Regions from separate parts of the Homo sapiens genome. Here region 2 is linked to region 1. The links are contacts of gene promoters, found by promoter capture Hi-C in blood cells and fetal thymus (Javierre and others, 2016). All regions are on one chromosome and are shown on one strand. The core of a region is centred on a gene start or on the middle of the fragment in contact, and the rest is flanking DNA. Distances in the headings are between cores, read along the strand shown.

Region 1 (3,415 bases), core at 93-2,592:
AGGTGGAAAGGAAGCATGTCACCGCCACGTGGTCCCTGGTCATGGCCAGGGACTGGGGATGCACAGCAGAGCTGTCTCAGGATCTGCTGTCCCAACCAGAGCCACAGGGCATTTCCCACCTTTGCTCCCAGCAGGAGCCATCCTTTCCTCCTTCCCTTCTCTGGGACCTTAGCTGAGAAGACTTTCTAGTTTTCTCAGAGAAGGCCTACCCTACCCACATAACAAGCCACACTGCCAGCTTTTGTACCCTGCCGAGTTGGGGGAGGCTGACGACCACAACAGTGGCAGTCTGTCCCTCCCAGATGCTCTTTCCATAGCTCCCCTTCCCAGCCTCTCACGAAGCCCACATCCTGCCTCATCATGGACCCAAGAGCCAATTACTTCGAATTCTCTACACTTGGGTTTAGGGTATTTTTCTTCTTCTCAGGAGCAAGGGCGAGGATGGCCAGCTTTTGTCTTATTCTGAGGCAGCAGATCAAAAGGTTAGGCAGAGTCTGGTATGAAAGGGAGGAGGATACTTCTTCCAAGTCTGTGCCCATATATAAATACATACAAAATAGGTGTTGTGCATATATGATGTTGTTTGTTGCAGCTCATGTAGACAGATCGATAATAGATACGTCATGCCGACAGCTTGAGTTGGGTGACTGTCCGTGTGCGTGCGTGAGCGCGCGGGCGCCCGCAACAGGGTGTCCGCATTTACCTGCAACTGAAGGGCTGCGTAGTTATTTTTGCAGGTTGTATCTGCAGTGTCTGTATGCTGGAAGAAGGCCTGGGAAAATCATATGTGGACATGTGGGGCTTGTGAGCTTTTGTGTGGACGCATGCCCATCGCCAGGTTGTACCAACAGGTTTCTCCGTCTGTAGCAGGAGTGATGATGAGACCTTTTTACCGCCCGTTAGGGAGCCTTTCTTTGCGGACTGAGGGGGAGTGAAGTGAAAGGGAGCCATATTTGGGACTCCTGCTAGGTTGTGGAAGTATGGAGGGATGGGTGAGGGGTGCGTGGTTTTCTCTGAGCGGGAGTAGGTGCTGTGCCCAGATGTGGGTGTTTGTGCTCGGGGTGTCGGGGGCCTCCTTCTGCCTACTCCGGCGTACATCTGCCTGGCAGTCTGCCGCCTAGCAAGCCAGGGGATTGCGCCCGGGAGGATGGAGTGTGTAGGAGGCTTGGATACAAGCGTGTAGGCGGAGGGGCTGGGGCAGGAGCGGGAGCGCGGCGCAGAGAGCCGCGAGAGGGCGTGGCCCTCCCTCCACTTCTCCCCGCCCACCCTGCCGGAGGCTGCTCCTGATTGGCTTCCCGGCCGCGGGGCTCAGGTTACATTCGCGAGCGGAGCCGAGCGCGGGAGACCGGACCCGAGAGCAGAGCTGCTGTTTCGGCGCGGGTCGGCTGGCGGCCGACTGCCCCAGAGCCCCCACCCGGCACCACACAGACCCCACCCCCGCCCTGCGCCAGCCTTCGTCCCCGCAGAGGACCCCCCGACACCAGCATGGACTGCTGCACCGTAAGTTAGAGGGCCCGGGGGAGGGGCACTTGGCGGGGTCCGCTGCGAGAGGCGCCTGAGAAAGCCCTGGAGGGCGAGAGAGGGATGGAAGTGGATGCGGAAGACCTAGGAGCAGAAAGAAAAGGGGTCCTTGCCGAGACGTGGGTGGTGGATGGTGGAAGGCGCCCGCCCGACTTGGAAGCCCTAGGAAAAATGCTCCTCAACTCGCGGGGGCGTCTGAGCGCCCATCCGTTAGACAGCCTAGGCTGGACTGGGAGCTCGGCAGGGCTCTGCAAGAGGGGAACTGCGGGTTGGATGACAGGAGGAACTTCCTCCCCAGTGAGACGCTGGCAACCATCGCCTGGAGACACTGCAGCGACTCCTTCCTCCCGTCTTTCGGCCCCCACCCCGTTCCCCATCCCACTGCGCCGCCGTCGGTGGGCGGACAGGCTGATCCTCATGACCCTCCAACGATCGCCTAAGCGCCCTGTGCAGCGCAGGCTGGTCCATATTGGTTAGCTCGGTAGTGATGCTGGCTGCAAAGAGCCTAGTCAGGGTGGTTCTGGGGAGGGGTTGTCCCGGCCCCCAAGGCCTTCTCGCTCGGAAGGGGCTGGGTGAAGTGACCGCGAGAGAGCCCTGCTGGCGAGGAAAGGAAGTGTCTGCAATTTGTCAGCGCCCACGCGGAAACCTGGGTACTGCAAGTGCCCAGCGCCCGAGGGGTTTGCTGTAAAGGTGACTCGGTATGAAAGCGCCTGGCATAGGCCCTGGCTCCTGCCTCACTGGAAGAGTACAGTGATCATACGTATATGAAATTTATTTGTTTGCTTATTTATTTTTTGCCTCTGCACTTGGAGAAAGACTATTCCAAAGTCCTTGTATTTTCAGTCATTCAGTCAACCAGCTAATGATACACGAGGTTACTGACTTTGCCACCTTATGGCATAGTAAAGAAAAAAAAAGTGGGCTTTGGAAGGGAAGGATAGCCCAGTTCTATAATAGGTGAGACTTTCCCATGTCTGGGTACCAAGAGGCAGAGAACACTTAGGGGCAAGTGGTGGTGGTTGCGATTTTAACTCTTATTAGTTTAAGTAATAGTTGCCAGTTTGTGAATGCCTGCCCTGTAGCCAGCACTTTATATTTAATCATAGCAACAACCCTGTGAAGTAGGTATTATTTCACAGATGTGCCAACTGAGGTTTAGAAAGTTAGATTTTTCCAAGGAAGCATGACTCCTAACTGTGGAGGCAGGATTCAAACATAGCCCTGTCTTCTTCGAAGAGCTGTGGTTTAACCTCTCCTCTAAATATTTACTGATTATAAAAGTAATCTGCTCATAATAGAAAACGTAAAACCTAGAGAAAAGTATGAAAAACAAACATGTCAGTCACCTACAGTCCCACCCCCTGGAGAACACCCCGATAACATATCTCCTTCCAGCCTTTTCCCTCTGCTTGTTATTCTACAGGAAGCAATTTTTTGGTTGTGAAGGGAGAAATGGGCTCCTCATGGAGGTTCCTGGGCTCCACTGAGGAAGAGCCCTTCCTCCCAGCAGTGTTGTATAAAGTAGAGAAGATAAATGGATGGTGGGTTCTGGGAAATGAGCTGGGGGGAGGGGAGAGGTGAGGATGACAGGGGAGTATTGCTGGGGAAGGGGAAGTGGGAGACGTGGTCACTGGAAAGAGGTGAGTAAACAAAGAATCCAAGAGGCCAGGGAAGGAATGGAATTGGTCTCCTCTGTGTCTGCAGTAGTAATTAGAGTAGGATGTGGGGGTCCCTGCCTGGAACTGTTGCTCTTGAGTGCCCAGGGAGCCATACTGAGGGATTAGTAGACATGGTTGAAGTCAGTGTCCCTTAAAAAAGGAGAGGCTACCCACCCAAAAGGTAAAAGAGAAGCAGATACACAATTATCTCCATGGCCCAGGGCCTGGGGCACCTC
Region 2 (3,248 bases), core at 44-2,543, 330 kb after region 1:
CTTTGTGGTTTTCCAGGAGCCCTTCCTCTTTTTAAATTAAATATTCACAAACTTATCAAGATTTTGCCAACTTTGGCAAAATTTTAACACATTTAATTGCTTATTTTTAGACTTATTGTTTGATGTACTATAATCCAAGACAAATCAAATTTCCTTTCTACAAACCTAAAATGTATCCATTCAGATTTGACCTTCCCTGTTCCCTTTCTTATTCTGGAACAACCAGTCATTTTTCTTATGTGTAATATTTTTCCTTTTAATAAACAAAAACAGGTTTCAATACCATGTATACAAAGTCATACCTCTCTGCCACGATTGTTCCTAGTAGAGTCTCATTCATGTATATTAGTTATATCTTTTAACCAAAGTAACTAACATTTCAGAGAGAATGGGGAGTGGGGAGGGTGGATCATTATAAACCATCTAGAACACATTGGCATTCTAGAAGGGCTCAGTAATACGCATAACATGACTTTCTCCAGCCTCCAACACTCTTCACTTTCACACTTCTCAAGGTGTGAATTCAGCTACGGTATTCCCCAACATCTCTGGGATTTATGACAGACCTTGGTTGAAATCCTTTCACCACTGTGAGCCTTGACTTTGCTGAGCCCCAGTTTCCTCATCAATAAAAGTCAGATGGGTTCTTGAGGATAAATGCGATAATATAAGGAAACATTCTTGACGTCTTGTGGCTGCTGGAGGGTACTCAACAGGTATCCTTTTACTTCCTTCCAGATAAGTTTAGATTTGGATTCCTATCAAACACTAAATGTCACGTAGTTCTTCTGTAAGTACATTATTATGCTGAGCTCTGAGGCCTGCAAAGACAATCAAGACAGGGTTCTACCTTCTTGGAACTAAGAATCAAGCTGGAGAGGGGCTGTGTACACACAGTCAGCAATTTTAGAAGGCCCTGCTCTACTTATTGAGTGCCAAAGGATGGCATTTCCTATGTGCCATGTCATTCAGAGGACCAGCGAGGGGAATGCAGAAGTCGGTTGGGGAGATTTTGAAGAAAACTGACTTGCTGAGCACTTAACACATAAAAGGTTAGAGATTATATGTATACATTGCCTGGTATACAGGAAGCATGGAATACATGGCGGCTTTTACTATCATTATTAATGATGGTGATGTTATTATTACAGATACATATTAACCCAATTCACCTTTCTTGTGCTAAACAAAATACAGGCCAGGGTGCAGACAAATAAAAATAAAGACTTATAGTCTGAAAATGAGAAATCAAATCTCTGTCACATTTAACTGCTTTCACATGTCCCCAAGGAGGGCATTTAAGAAGTGAAGAAGACAGAATAGGAAGCTGAAAGTGGACTGGCCCTGGGCCTTGGACTCCTCCTCTGTAAAATGAGGATAATAATAATACCTGTATCACACGAGTGTTTTGAGGTTTAAATGAGGTACTACGTGTAAGGTACTTAGGTCAGTGCCAGGCTGATATGAAACACTGAGTAAACACTAATGATTGACTATATTCTATTTGTTTTTCCTACTACTTTGTGCCAGGCATTGTTTATTTGTAATTTTTGTGGAACTGCAAGGTGAATGTTAGCTTCCCTGTGGAACATATGAGTGTAATGAGGCACAGAGCAGTTATGTAAGCCTGTCCAGCACCACACAGCTGATAAATGACTGAGCTGGAGTTGGAATCAAGATTAGTCTGACTCGTAAGCCCATGGTCTTTCCGCTGCCTTCCTAATGATAGTGTTGGGTGGGGAAAAGATTACATGGCCATTTGGCCTTGGACAAATTACTTAACATCTCCCAGGCTCAATTTCCTTATCTATGAAATGGAAAAAATGATGTACCTATATCACGGGGTTTTGGTGAAATTAAATGAGAAGCTGCTTAAAGCACTTAGCCCAGTGTCTAGCGTAGTTGGTATTGGCTAGGTGCTTATAAATTTCTGTGGAGGGAGAGAATCATCTCCATTAGGAGAAGAAGGAAGTCTTTGACTTGGATCTGGAGGTGTTCTGAGCAGAGGTCACAGAGCCAGCAAAGGCATGCAAGTGGAGACATGGCCTGTCCCCTGTCTCTGAAGTAGTAACATGTAGCTCCAGCTGGTAGGAACAAAAGGTGCCCCTGGACAGGAGGCTGGGAGTCATGTGGCGCCAGGTGTGTGGAGACAGCTGCAGACATCCAGGCAAGAGTCAGAGATGGCGGAGTTTCTGTCCAGGAAGATGTTGCTCTCCTCCTCCTGTTAGGCCTTCCTCGTCAGGATGACAATGAATGGCTTGTCCATGGCGTTTCAGAGCCACAGAGCACCTGGAGGTTCCCCAGCCTGGAGCCTGGCTGGTTCCTGCCTTTTGTACCAGTGTCTGTGTGGGTGCGTCTGGGGGCAGCTGGCAGCATGGGAGATGACTGTGGCTGGTGCTTATGGGGCTGGGCCCATTTCCTGGGGCCCTCTGAGGGGGATGGCCCAGAACGTGCAGAAGAAGAGCCTGTGGGAGGAAATACCAGGGTGACCACAGCTGGATGAGCAGGAATGGGCAGGAGGGTGAATTGGGCAGGCAGGAAGAGCAGGAGCTGTGAGCTCCTGTGGTGCCATTTTTCCCACACCTCGATCTTCCCCTGTGAGCTGCAAAAGGCCACAGCTGAGCTAGAATGGATGGTTCTGCCCTGTGGAGTTAGCTAAGGGCTTTCACTGCCGGATCCTGGTGCCCACTCTGAGGAGGACGCAGGGGAAAGACATTCAAATTCATACTGAGAGAAAATCTGCTGTGTGCCAGACACTTCCACATCCAGGATATCTCATTTAATCTTTATAACACTCTCGTGCAGCAGGGGAATATGATCTTATTTAAAGGAAGATCGAACTGAGGCTTAGAGACGTACAACAACTTGCCCAAGGTCACATTAAGTGGCAGAACCAGAAATTAGGACTCAGCCAATTTTGCTCGAAGTCTGATGTCTGTTTCCCTGTCCTATGGGCTAGCTCTCTCAAATCTTACTTTCCTGTTGACTGCAAAGAGGTGCATGGTAAGGGCAGCAGAAAGGGCTGTTTAAAATGAGCTTTGATGGGAAGAGGCTGCTTGGAAAAGGAAATGAGGGCTCCTGGGGAGAACCTGGAGTCTCAGCCCATGATCCCTACTCCGGCCCCCCAGAAGGGGCATGTGAGCCTGTGGAGGTCCCATCCCCCACCCCTCGTGACAGCAGCTTCTCCCCCAGCTGCTTTTTGGGCTTCCTCTTCCACCCTGCTGTTTCCTCTCTCCCTCCCTACAGTG

What was found. The method cuts DNA at HindIII sites, captures the fragments that hold promoters and counts their contacts. A CHiCAGO score of 5 or more calls a contact.
Region 2: a contact is called between a fragment that was not itself captured here and the fragment with the promoter of NRGN in region 1, in 1 of 17 cell types (monocytes). The highest score is 5.1, in monocytes.

What each region holds. Positions count from the first base shown.
Region 1 is chr11:124,738,600-124,742,014 of GRCh38, forward strand. It overlaps NRGN (neurogranin), which reads left to right and starts at 1,343. Exons shown (of 4, transcript NM_006176.3): 1 at 1,343-1,500. The coding sequence starts at 1,486. RefSeq lists silencers at 1,042-1,101, 1,162-1,481. The HindIII fragment of the contact is 6,441 bases long and covers 1-3,415 here.
Region 2 is chr11:125,067,618-125,070,865 of GRCh38, forward strand. The region is part of intron 1 of SLC37A2 (solute carrier family 37 member 2); the gene reads left to right. Among named protein-coding and RNA genes, the nearest start is that of SLC37A2, 5.9 kb to the left of the region's middle. The HindIII fragment of the contact is 4,165 bases long and covers 1-3,248 here.